Regions from separate parts of the Homo sapiens genome. Here region 2 is linked to region 1. Evidence: promoter capture Hi-C in human tissues and cell types (Jung and others, 2019). All regions are on one chromosome and are shown on one strand. Each heading gives the region's core, a stretch centred on a gene start or on the middle of the fragment in contact. The rest is flanking DNA. Distances are from core to core; before and after follow the strand shown. Region 1 holds the start of CADPS2 (calcium dependent secretion activator 2). Region 2 overlaps CADPS2 (calcium dependent secretion activator 2).

Region 1 (6,033 bases), core at 2,743-5,242:
GCACTTTAAGCCATATACATCTTAAATATTGTTACGAATTTAGACCTGAAGTCTGTGAACTCACATTTATGAGTAAAGGTACTTAATCTCTTCTATGTTGGTCATTATGCTTATCAGGATCTCTCTAACTTTCAAACCACCAAGGAACCCTTTTTTTTTTTTTTTTTACTTTCTCCTCCGAGGTCTCAATGTTTTTCATAAGTCTAACAAATTGCCTTTATTAATTAGTACCTGATTTGTATTATTGTTTTTCTAGTTTCAACACTGACTCTACCTTTAACTGAAGATCTAGAACCATCCAAAGTTAATCATCATTGTTAGCACTGGGGTGGTGCAAAGGTAATCAGGGTAAATCAGCATTAGAGGCTCAAGCACTATCACTACTGACATCACTTTCAATCACTGTTTATTAGTTCATACTCATATCATGTGTGAACCCCTGGATATGTTCATTTAGGAGGTGTAGCACCTGGAAAGGCACTCTGTCACAGTGTGTAGCCCATATGCACCCCCAGAATTTTCTGTAAAACCATCAGTGGTCAATCAGAGGGCTTGAATGTCATAAACTGACCACTATTATTCCTCAAAATTGAAATAGTCTAGACAAAAGCAAAGAAATTCATGTGTTCGTTAACTGTGTTTAATGCTACTAAGCTTTCTCAAATAGCTCATAGACACAACCTCTTACTAACTTTGTGGACCATTTTAGCCAAGTGAAAAAAATAAATAAATAACACTGCTGCTCAGTTCTGGTTCATAGAAACTCACCAGCTCTAATAGTGAACGGGCTTTGACTAAAGAGAAACCTGACTCCTGGCCTCCTGGGTAAAGATCTTATCTTTGTGATTAATTTTCTTCATAAAATGAGGACCCTTTCAGATCTCAATTTCTGGGTCTCTAAATTCTTGAAGTTGAGAGAAGTGAGTAAGCAGCAATATTCATTTCAATGACAACAATTTCAGCTATTAAATCTTTTTACTGGATGCCTGACTACTTGAAGATACAGAATAAAATAAACAACGGATTAGTGATTTTGCAATTACCTTGTTACTTCTTTTAGATAATCTAACTGTATAATGCAAGACTTCAAGTAAGTTTTGGCATTACTTATTAGCTTGTGCATCAAATTCACATAAACATAGTTAAATTCCCATTTCATTTTGCCCTAAGAGGAAACCAGACTGCCAAAAGTTGCTCCAGCTCCCTTTAGTAAGCAGCACATTTTTTAAAAGGTGGGGGAGGGTTGAGTAAAGTAAATACTTAGGCTATTTGGCATCCATCTTAATAAAAAATAAAAGTAATTCACAAAAGTTAACCTGTGCTCAATGCTCTAAGCATTTAGAATGTGGAAATTCCTAAGGATTCTATTTTTTTTCATAGAATATATGTTGTATTTTGCTTTTTTTGTAGTTTGAAATTATCTTTGGTAATGCCTGGATAAGGTTATAACAATAGTCTCCCCAGTAGTATTGTGAATGCACCTGCTTGCCAATTCAAATAATTTTGAACAAATATTTAAACAGAAGGAGTCAGAGAAAAATGCACTATTTGAACAGCTAAGGGAGGGTCCACTTCATTAACAAAATGCAACAAGTATTCACAGTATAAATCAACTCATAGTAAATTTGCAAAAGCATCTTCAAGGATAATATTCCAAGGAGAAAATAGTCTCTTAATTTTACCAAACATTATTTTTACACTTTAATCATTAAAAATAGGCTTAAATGCAATATGAATGGTAAAACTAGAGACTGGATGATATGAACTCATACCACAACATATACAAAAAATAGTTTTAACAATGACTATTGAAGCTGACAGTCGCTTGACTAGAATTGAGAAGAGGCCACGGGTGACTGCCTCAGAACAGACTCAATTAGAGCAGCTGATTAGGAAGTATGGGATTCATACAGGAGTGGAGCAGCAGGCTCATAAAAACACCGCGGGGCATTCAAAACTTACCTGAGTAATGGTGGTTTTAACTGTGCCAATTTGTTTGGGATTGGGAAATGCTATTATGACCTATTTCTCTTCTCCAACATGAGGAGTCTCCCTACCATTCTGTGACTGAATACCTAGGGTTAGGTTACCTGAAGGATCTGTTATTAATCTCCAGCTGTAAGGAAATATTCCATAAGGATTCCCAGAGAATAAATGATTCCAAAATAGTTGCTCAGTTTGTGTGTGTTTTAAAAAGTTGGGTAAGACCACTTAAAATTTTTTTCTAAGAGGATAGATCTTAAGCATACAATAGTGTTAACTATAGGTGTGTACTTATCCCCATGATACTTATACACCTATGAAACCACCAATAGTTAGGGTGGAGTGGTATGCACAGCTTTTTACATGTCAATTATACCTCAAAAAATAAAGGTTATCTAAATGGGGGTAGGAGAATGTAGGGAGACTGAATTTACTCTGAACTACAGTTATAGTTGAAGTCAACTCAAAACCTCTCCAAATTTCTAAAAATGCCTCACACACTGAAGTTAATATTTCAGAAAACTAATAAATGTCTGTGCATGTAGGTATGCCTTGAGCAGACTACAATCTCTCTGGATCTCTAGGTCTTGTCACAAACTGAGGGAACTGTTACCGATTTCTACAGAACCTTCCAGGTTCAGCATTCTATTAAAAAGATTTCCTAGAGTTTGTATTGTAAACATTTAACCACTTAGGACAATTTGAGTCATTACTCGTGTCTGGTACAGAACATCAGGCCCCTGGGGTCTTGTTTTGAAACTCAAGTTGGCCAGCCTTTCACCTGAAACAAACTTCTTACCTTTTGGGGGAGAATAAGCATTTTGTTCCCCAAAAAAGCATTTGGAAAGCATTTGTTATGAAGTGATCATGCACCAATCCTTTATCTTTCATCAGTAATAGTATATTTCATTAATCAGGCCTGCCCAGACCAGAAATTACTTACCCACAAACACTTTACAAAGCTGCATGCCTTCTCGGTGTTTGGATTTGATGTCCTGGTTGTATGACAATATAGGAAACGTATTAATTTAACTTTTTTATTCACTGAGGAAAATTTCTACCCCTCTTAAGTGAAGACTTCACTCTAGCTAAGAGAAGTACTCGGGCTCCACCTGTTTCGCCTAGCTACAACACTCATTCAGACCCTCGGCAAACCCAGCTCTAGCAATATCACGCCAGGCTAGGTGGACAGGAATGCACCAGTGCTGTTGGAAATTAAAGTTGATGGGAGTTGCATTCTAATCCGGCCAGAGCTGCGCCTGCCGGGTGCAACCGCGGCGCGGCCGGCGCTGTCGGTCTCTGTCTCACGGATGGTGAGCTGACAGCTCCTGCCAGCCCAGGCGGGGAGGAGGAGAAGAGGTGTCCGCTGCAGCCGCATACCCGGCGGGTGAAAGCACCGTCTTGTCCCCAAAGATTCCTCTGCCCTCAGAGACTAACAAAAATACGGTGTCCTGCGTTTCGCAGAAGGACGGGAGGCGTCCCAGAGCTCTCCCGGGAGAAAAACCCAGGGAGAAGTGGTGGTAGGAGGCGCCCGGTCCCGCAACTCACCTTCTGCTGCCTCCGGGCCATGTCGGTGGGCTGCTTGGCGTTGAAGGGGTACGCGATGCACCTCACGACGAAGACGTAGAGCTGCAGGCGGATCCTCCGCTCCTGCTCATCGTCCAGCTGCCGCTGGGGCTCGTCTCGCCCCTCGCTGAGCACAGAGGGGCTCGGGCTCACAGATCTGGCCGCGCCGCCGCCGCCCGCGCGCCCCGGCGCGTCCCGCCGCCCTTCCCGAGTCGGGGCTGGAGGAGCTCGCTGCGAGCTGCCGGCTGCCACCAGCACATCGCGGCTTTCCTCTTCCAGCCCCTCGTCCGACTCCTCTTCGCTGGAAGACGGGTCCAGCATGGTGCTCGGGGATCCCCGCCGCTCGGCCCGCGGTCCCCAAGCGCCTCACCCCCGGCGGCTGCGCCCGCGGGTCTGAGGGAGCCGCGGGGCTGGCTGCAGCGGCCGCAGAACGAAAGGAAAACTGGCCAGGGCTTTCCGGACACGTCGAGTTAGATTCAGGAGTGTTTCCTACCACCAGGGCGAAAGGGGCGGGCAGGAGCCGGGAGGAGGATTGGGAGGGGGGAGAGGGGGAGCCGCCGGGACTGAATAGGCGGAGTTAGCGTTGGGGGTGAGCTTGGGCGCCTCAGGAATTGCTCCGCCAGCCCCGGGCGCGCCGACCCAGCGGTTCCCCAGAGCCCGCCGGCAGAGGCGGAGCCGCCCGAGCGCCCGGACGCAGGTGGGGAACCTGTGGCGCCTACAACAAGCAACACGTGGAATTGAATGTTGAAGAGCCGCGCGGGGCCGCGGAGTGCGCGTGCGCGCGCCGCCGCTGCTGCCCGGGCCCGCCTGGAGCCCTAGCACACAGTTTGCAAAGGCGGGGAGCGGCCGAGCGCGATGGCCCGTGTAAGCGTCCACCGGGGCTGCTCCGACTACCCTCACCCTACCACCTGTGATCTTTTCTCCAGCAGGTGGAGGTGGAATGGGGAGCGGGGAGGGACTGTTCCCTAGCAAGAGGTTAGGGGGAGCGGCCGAGACATCTCCCCAACCCGAATCGGCTGCCTAGGATTGAACCCCAGCGCGGAAAAGCGGGACTGGAGCCCTTCACCACGAAGTATCTTTGCGACAAGACTTTGAAAAGTCTCACTCTGCTCTGCTGCCGTTTTGATACTCATGCTGAAGCCCAAATTATAAAAGTCGGAGTAATGAAAAAAAAAAGAAAACCAACGAGGCTTACTTTTTAAACTGTTCTAGTCCTGCAGACTCAAGGCAAGAGAGATTTTATATGTGCAAAATGATACTGATTCAGCTCAAACATATCTCGATTATTTTCTGGGTTGGGATGCAGTTGACTCAAAACAGGTTGTGTAGTGTGGACATTTATTCAACAAAGATTTGAGCGCCCTCCCGGTGTCCAGCACTGTTAGCCTTTTGCGGAGCCCGCGGTGACTAAGGCACATGACACTCAGTCGCTGGTGGTTCTGGCCTCAAGTCGGCGTCTTGTAGCTGCGCTGAAGCCTGCCTTATCTGCGCAGATTTCTCAGTCCTAGTGCTGGAACCACCTAGGAGTTTCTTATAGTAATTCTGTATCTTATGTCCTAAGTCCTGACAGAGGGGGAAATAGGCAAAACAATGCATTCAACACCAGGTGGAGTGTGCAGCGACCAGGTGGGCAGGGAGGTGATGAAGTTCAGTGGAAATAACACAGGGCAAATTAACTACCAGCTCTGAGCTCCTCTACCACCATGGTCAAACAGCAGTTTTAGCTTTTTCAGGCCACTTTCATATAGTTAGGTACACAAGAGAGACTTCTGCACTTACTGACATTCTCTCTAGATGGGTAAAAGACAAGGAGGCATTTACTCCTGAGGAGTCTTACCTATTTTTCTGCCTAATCCATAACAGGCCCCCTAGTAATAAAAGGTCTTCAGTAAGAGCATGGCTGTGGGATGATCACAAACTGCCAAGAAATAGAAAATCTCAAACACCTATGTATTTAAAGGCAATGTTTTATTTTTGGCAAGGCAAACAAATAGCAATCTTGTCATAATAGCTGATGCTTATCTAGCACTTTGCAAAGATCTGTGAAATTGTTTAATACCCTCATCAAAGTAATAGCTTTCTGAGGCAGGTAGTATTATTATTGATTGCCCTTTGAACCAGATACTGCACTAAGCTCTTTACATACATTATCTCATTTATTTTAGGTTCCATTGTTCAAATAAGGAACCTGAGAGTTGAAGAATCCTTTCCTTAGGGTACAGAACTAGCACCTAATGGAATAAGGACTCAAAACAGTTTTCTAGTTCCAAATAGTGTCATTTTCTACTGCAATTTGCCTTGATAATAAGACAGTATAATAAATGTATGAGGTTTACTAAACTAATAAAAATTTCTAGGGACATAAATGTATGATTTAAATATAGCAACTTTACTGCCCTTTTCTTGCCAACAATAGGTATATTTTTCAGTTCCTTTTATTAATCAATATTACTTGATGTGATCACTTATTCTTTTCCCATTAAA
Region 2 (6,118 bases), core at 1,020-3,519, 520 kb before region 1:
TAATTCAAAATCAAACAAAAACTATGTGTGTTACAAAGTCCAATGTGATATATACAAGATTATTTGTGCCTTCCTTTTTAAGATATCAAACATAAAATCTCCCCTTAATTCTCCCTTTCATGCTGCTGCTTTGTGGGGCTCTACATATGTGATTTTTTTCTACTTATGGTCCAGCACTGATTCCTTGATTCTAGGTACAGGACGAGGAGGGTATGAAGACTTCTTTGGGAAACATTTGTAAAATAAAAAGTCCAGTTCCAAAGAAACCCCATGCAAAGGTAGAAAAGTCCAGGGCCTTCTCATTTAAAATACTCATTTATAACTACAGCAGCAATAAAGCCAGAGACAAAATGTGGTGGTGCATCCTAAAAATAAGAGCTATCTACAACTGATACATAAAGCTTGCCAGCACTCAAAACTGCTACCATTTCTAATGGCAATGTAGAGATATAATGTTCTTCAAATACAAAGAGAGAATTTATATTCCATCTAGTCTTAAATCTTAATTTATTTTTCATTGTGCTCTAATTCTAATTCTTTGAAAATTGACATATATGCCAAAATAAATGATTAAACAGAACACCTTAGGCCTTGATCATATAGGTGATAATAGAATTTAAATCAAAAACTAATTTGGTATGATGATTAGCTTAAAAATGCTGCACAACTTGTTGGTTATGTTTACCATGTGAACGTTCTCATTGTAGCTAAGTCAGTTTCATGATTTCTGCTCATGGAATCTAAATTTTGGAACAAATTTATGAGTTATTTCCCAAGAATTCTATGAAACAACAAATGTTAAAATAAGTAACTACTGATTTATATAACACTTGTGTATTTAGAAAACTAATTCTTTAACTGGTTCATCTTTATCATTATTCTACCTTCTATAAGAAACCCATTACAGCTTTCATAGAAAGGGGAGGAAAAGCGAGCAGTTTTTCTATAAATAGTGTGAGGCATTTTTCTACCCCATCCTAGAGTGCTATAACTTCCCTCTGCAACTCAGGTGATATGTTCTTATGATGAACTGATCTCCTTAAGAGTTTCTGAGTTACAACAGAAAAAGTCAACGAAATAACCTTGCTATGTCTTGTTATGAAGGTTAGTGCTTGCTTAAGGAAAATAAACTACTCCCTAAGGGAATGGCACTGGTTTAAAGATTTGAAATAAACCCATGATGAACTGCAATTTTTTTTTAAAGAATTCCATACAGTTTTAAAAAGCAGATAAAAAATACTTACTGGAACATCAACATATTTTGCAGCTGCTTTCACCTTAAGTGTGAAAGAAAGAGATAATCATGAGAATTATTTTTTTAACTGCCATATAAGTACTATGACAACAGTTAAAAGACCACAGAAGAGAACTCATTCAAATACTTACAGTGAATGACAGAATGGATGAAAAGAAAGTGCCTTCATCATACCTTGACAGCTTAGACAACACGCCTTCCAACACTGAAACAAACTATAATACAGTTATAGTGAGTATTTAGAATGTTACTATGCATACAAACTAATAGCAGGACAAACAATTCCTGAATCAATTTCTTCCATCGCACAAAAATTCACAATGAATGAACTGACAGCTGAGGTCAGACTAACTTGTGATGTTTACTCTTTCATTCTGAACATGAACTCTACTGTCCTTTTCTTTCCCATGGCTGGAAATAATACACTTTTTTTTTTTTTTTTTTTTTTAAAATGAGATGGAGGCTTGCTCTGTCACCCAGGCTGGAGTGCAGTGGCGTGATCTTGGCTCACTGCAACCTCCACCTCCCGAGTTCAAACTATTCTCCTGCCTCAGCCTCCCGAGTAGCTGGAACTACAGGCGTCCGCCACCACACCTGGCTAATTTTTGTATTTTTAGTAGAGACGGGGTTTTACCATATTGGCCAGGCTGGTCTCAAACTCCTGACCTTGTGATCCACCCGCCTTGGCCTCCCAAAGTACTGGGATTACAGGTGTGAGCCACCGTGTCTGGCCAATAATACACAATTTTTAAAAAAATAAAAGATAATGTGTCATAGGAATCTAGTCACTATACATATGAGACCACTGAAGCCATTCATAAACAATCTTAGGTCCATGAGATTTTTCCTTAAAACATTTTTCAACTTCAATGTGGATGTTAAGAAACAATGGCAGGCAAGCTTAATCAGATTCCTTTCTATTTTATATTACTTGCCATCCTTCAACTTTTTCTACATCTACACAGGAGGTTGAATATAAAAGAACAGATAATGGGCCAGGCAGGGTGGCTCATGCCTGTAATTCCAGCACCTTGGGAGGCCAAGGTGGGCGGATCGCCTGAGGTCAGGAGTTCGAGACCAGCCTAACCAACATGGAGAAACCCCGTCTCTACTAAAAGTACAAAATCAGCAGGGCATGGTGGCTCATATCTGTAATCTTAGCTACTCGGGAGGCTGAGGCAGGAGAATTGCCTGGGAGGCAGAGGTTGTGGTGAGCTGAGATCATGCCATTGCTCTCCAGCCTGGGTGACAAGAGCAAAACTCTGCCTTAAAAAAGAAAAACAAAAACAAAAACAAAAAACCAAAAAACAAACAAACAAAAAAAATGAACAGATAATGAAAGGGAGGTGGTGTAACATATGAGCTCTTGTAACTATGACACAATGGCTGACATTAGTTAACAAGCATTTACCAGGCAGTTCTAATTGGCACATATAAGGATCATCCCTGCTTCCCAAAGCTTACGTAGCAGTTATGGAGAGAAAACAGATACACACTGCAGAGTACAATGGAAAAGAGCACTGGACTCAGAATGTATATCCCAATTCCATCACTCAGTAGAATGCAAGCTCAGTTTGACCACCTTACTTCTCAGGCTTCCTCCATCAGTTAAATGGACTAGGGTGAGGGGGGTAGGATGTGGAATTCAAATTAGTCTCAAAAGTGGTTTACATTTCTAAAACTTTATATTTCTATGAAATAAAAAAACACATACACTATAATACAGTAAAAATGTGAAGCATTTTACTTTATTTAGCATGAAAATCGATGAATAAGAGATCTTAAGAATGACATACTGCCCTACATCTCTCCTCCTTAGAACTAAAATAATATGAACTATTGACACATTATAGATTCCCAAAGGGAAAATGCTGACAAGGTTTTTTCAATAGGAAAAGGGAAATTAACGAAGACTGGTTTTTGTTCACATAGCAGCTTCTTCAACAAAGTGATAATAGTTCTAGGGACACAGCTTATTGGTCTCTGGTGACCAGAGAACTCGCTGTGAGTGCATAGGAGATAATCTTTTCTTTATGGCTGATCAATTACTACAAAATAGTTTATGCAAAAGAAACAAAAACTTCCCTATAGGTTTCTCCATCACATCATTTGCGACATGATGTAAGAACACAGAAACAAAACCATGCAGACTGACTGTGAACTATAAGTGCATTTTTAAAGAATGAGAATAACGTATGCTTGGGTAGCTATCCTAAAGGATGCCTAGGGAAAAAAAATCCACCCACAAAATTGCGAATTGCTCACATGTAGAAGTTAATTTAGCACTTTCTTCCTGCCTGTTAGGATTTCTTACCAATCATGACTGGCTAACTCAACTTGATGTAGTTTGCAAGGACCCAGAAGATGAATACTCTAGGGTTATGTCAGACCAGGGAAAGGGAATTCCAAACTTAATGGCCCTCTGTGGAAAATGCCTCATCTCTTGTAACTCAAATCTTGGAGCAAGTGTGTACTGGGTGATCTCATTTGCCACGAGGACAGCGGCAATTGCTATGGTTACTAGACAGCTTGAACCATGGAGGCTGTAGCCCAGCACCTGATTCTTGGTGCTTGCTAGTGAGTCTGTGCATACACACATGTGTGTTGCTGAGGGACAAAGCAAGATAGAGGCAGGAAGCCTGTTGATGAATTTGCTGAGGGACAAAGCAAGATAGAGGCAGGAAGCCTGTTGATGAATTTGCTGAGGGACAAAGCAAGATAGAGGCAGGGAGCCTGTTGATGAATTTACTTCTTGGCTCAAGTTGCAGCTCTGCCGCTGTCTGGCTACGAGATAAATGTCAAGTCATTTTGCTTCTCTCTCTTCATTGTACTTCTCAGTAAAGTGGGGAAAAGGACAGCTATCCCGCCCACCTTACAAGAATGGTCTGAAGATCAGTGGAGGTAATTTATGTGAAAGAACTGTGAAAATGGCCAAACACTAAAGAAATGTAAAGAATTAATATTATCCATATGATTAGCAAAATCACTATCTGTGTCTAAAAACCTGAATACATTAAGTCACAAGTTAATGGGGGCTGCCTTAGAATTACTTAGTGACAAAGAGGAATGAGTTTGGTCCTTAAGCTAATGGGTCTAATTCAATTAAATCTATGGGGCTTCTATGGAGGTAGAATAGAGCTGAGGCTTTAAGTCAGAAAACCACTGGGATTCCGCCTGTTTCAAGGTTATTTGGCAGACGGCAGAAGGAGGAAGGCTTTAAACACAGGTGGTCTTGATCCAAAGCCCATGCTCTTTACCCATCATGCTACAGAACTGTAAGAATTAAGTGATACGCCATATGCAATGTGCCCAGCATATAAATACTCAAGGGTTCAGGTGTGGTGGCTCACACTTGTAATCCCAGCACTTTGGGAAGCCAAGGCAGGAGTATTGCTTGAGTCTAGGAGTTCAAGACCAGCCTGGACAACATAGCAAGATCCTGTCTCTACAAAAAAAAATTAAAAAAATTGGCTGGGCATGGTGGCGTGTGCCTGTAGCTTCTCAGGAAGCTGAGGTGGGAGGATTGCTTGTGCCCAGGAGTTCAAGGCTAAACTGAACAATGATTGTGCCACTGCACTCCATCCTGGATGACAAAGGAAGACCCTGTCTCAAGTTAAAAAAAAAAAAAAAAAAAAAAAAAGAACTTGGCCAGGTGCCGTGGCTCACGGCTGAAATCCCAGCACTTTGGGAGGCTGAGGTGGGTGGAACATGAGGTCAGGAGATCGAGACCATCCTGGCTAACACAGTGAAACCTCATCTCTACTAAAAATACAAAAAAGTTAGCTGGGTGTGGTGGCAGGTGCCTATAGTCTCAGCTACTCAGGAGACTGAGGCAGGAGAATGGTGTGAACCCAGGAGGCGGAGCTTGCAGTGAGCCGAGATTGCGCCACTGCACTCCAGCCTGGGCAACAGAGTGAGACTCCATCTCAAAAAAAAAAAAAGAGCCCAATAAGTGTCATTTTGTTTTAATTATTAATGAGTACCTAGGATAAGACATACAAAAACACAACAGTCTTAGATCTTTCCCTTTGGGAAATACAAACTAGTGGGAGAGATAGACATGAACATAACTGCACATGACACAAGGCAGAAGTGTTATGGGCAGTGTAGACAGTAAGCAGTATAGCTGAAACCAGAAGAAGGAAATAATGTCTTTGACTACAGGATATGGGGTCAGCTTCACTTATGAGTTGGCACAGGAGCTGAGCCAAAGGATAGCAGAGATAGAGTGGCTAAAATGACTCTCTGGGAAGGTTGCTGGCAAATGCATTTAGGGCAGAATTTTCTCCATGTGGCATCTGGCAGCCTGTTTGGCTCATCTTCTTCAGAGCACGAAGCAGCATTGGCTTATATACAAGTTAGTCCTAGGTGTGAACCTGTGGTCTGCTGCATTCATGTCTCAGCATTCTTTGTCTCCATTTCAAAAGTAGTGGAGAGTCTTTCCTCAGCTTCCTCCCTATCCCTAAAGGTCCCTGGGGAGGCTCAATACAGCTGGGAATCTAAGTGCTTACATGGCAGTGAGCAGCGACAGCACCTGTGGGATTAACCAGCTGAGGTGTACAGTTCCTACAGGAAAGTTTTCTTTGTAAGATTTTTGTTGAGGCACACCTAGTAGAAGAGCTACCTTAAAAATCAAACTCTATTATAAACATCAAGATTGACTAGTAACGATATACCTTCCACCTGGCTTTTAATTGCATAAAACAGCAAGATTCCAAAGAAACCCAGTTAAATGTTGGGTTTAGTTGCTGCATCTTTAACTGCTTCCTGTGAACTTTCTCTGTACAGCTCAGGGAGTATATAAACACTTATGGGTTTGCCTTTGTGCTGTCTGTTCTCCTGAGGGTGTCGGGTTGGAATGAA

Evidence for each region. The method cuts DNA at HindIII sites, captures the fragments that hold promoters and counts their contacts. A contact is called where the count stands out against the background at its distance.
Region 2: a contact is called between a fragment that was not itself captured here and the fragment with the promoter of CADPS2 in region 1, in 2 of the 25 tissues and cell types used here (H1 embryonic stem cells and stomach).

The regions. Positions count from the first base shown.
Region 1 is chr7:122,882,468-122,888,500 of GRCh38, forward strand. CADPS2 (calcium dependent secretion activator 2) reads right to left here and starts at 3,993. Exons shown (of 30, transcript NM_017954.11): 1 at 3,532-3,993. The coding sequence starts at 3,870. RefSeq lists an enhancer at 3,281-3,330 and silencers at 3,691-3,820, 3,861-3,910, 3,921-4,000, 4,071-4,230, 4,241-4,400. The HindIII fragment of the contact is 17,974 bases long and covers 1-6,033 here.
Region 2 is chr7:122,359,544-122,365,661 of GRCh38, forward strand. CADPS2 (calcium dependent secretion activator 2) reads right to left here. Exons shown (of 30, transcript NM_017954.11): 26 at 1,387-1,470; 27 at 1,245-1,277. Among named protein-coding and RNA genes, the nearest start is that of FEZF1, 58 kb to the left of the region's middle. The HindIII fragment of the contact is 5,436 bases long and covers 1-4,987 here.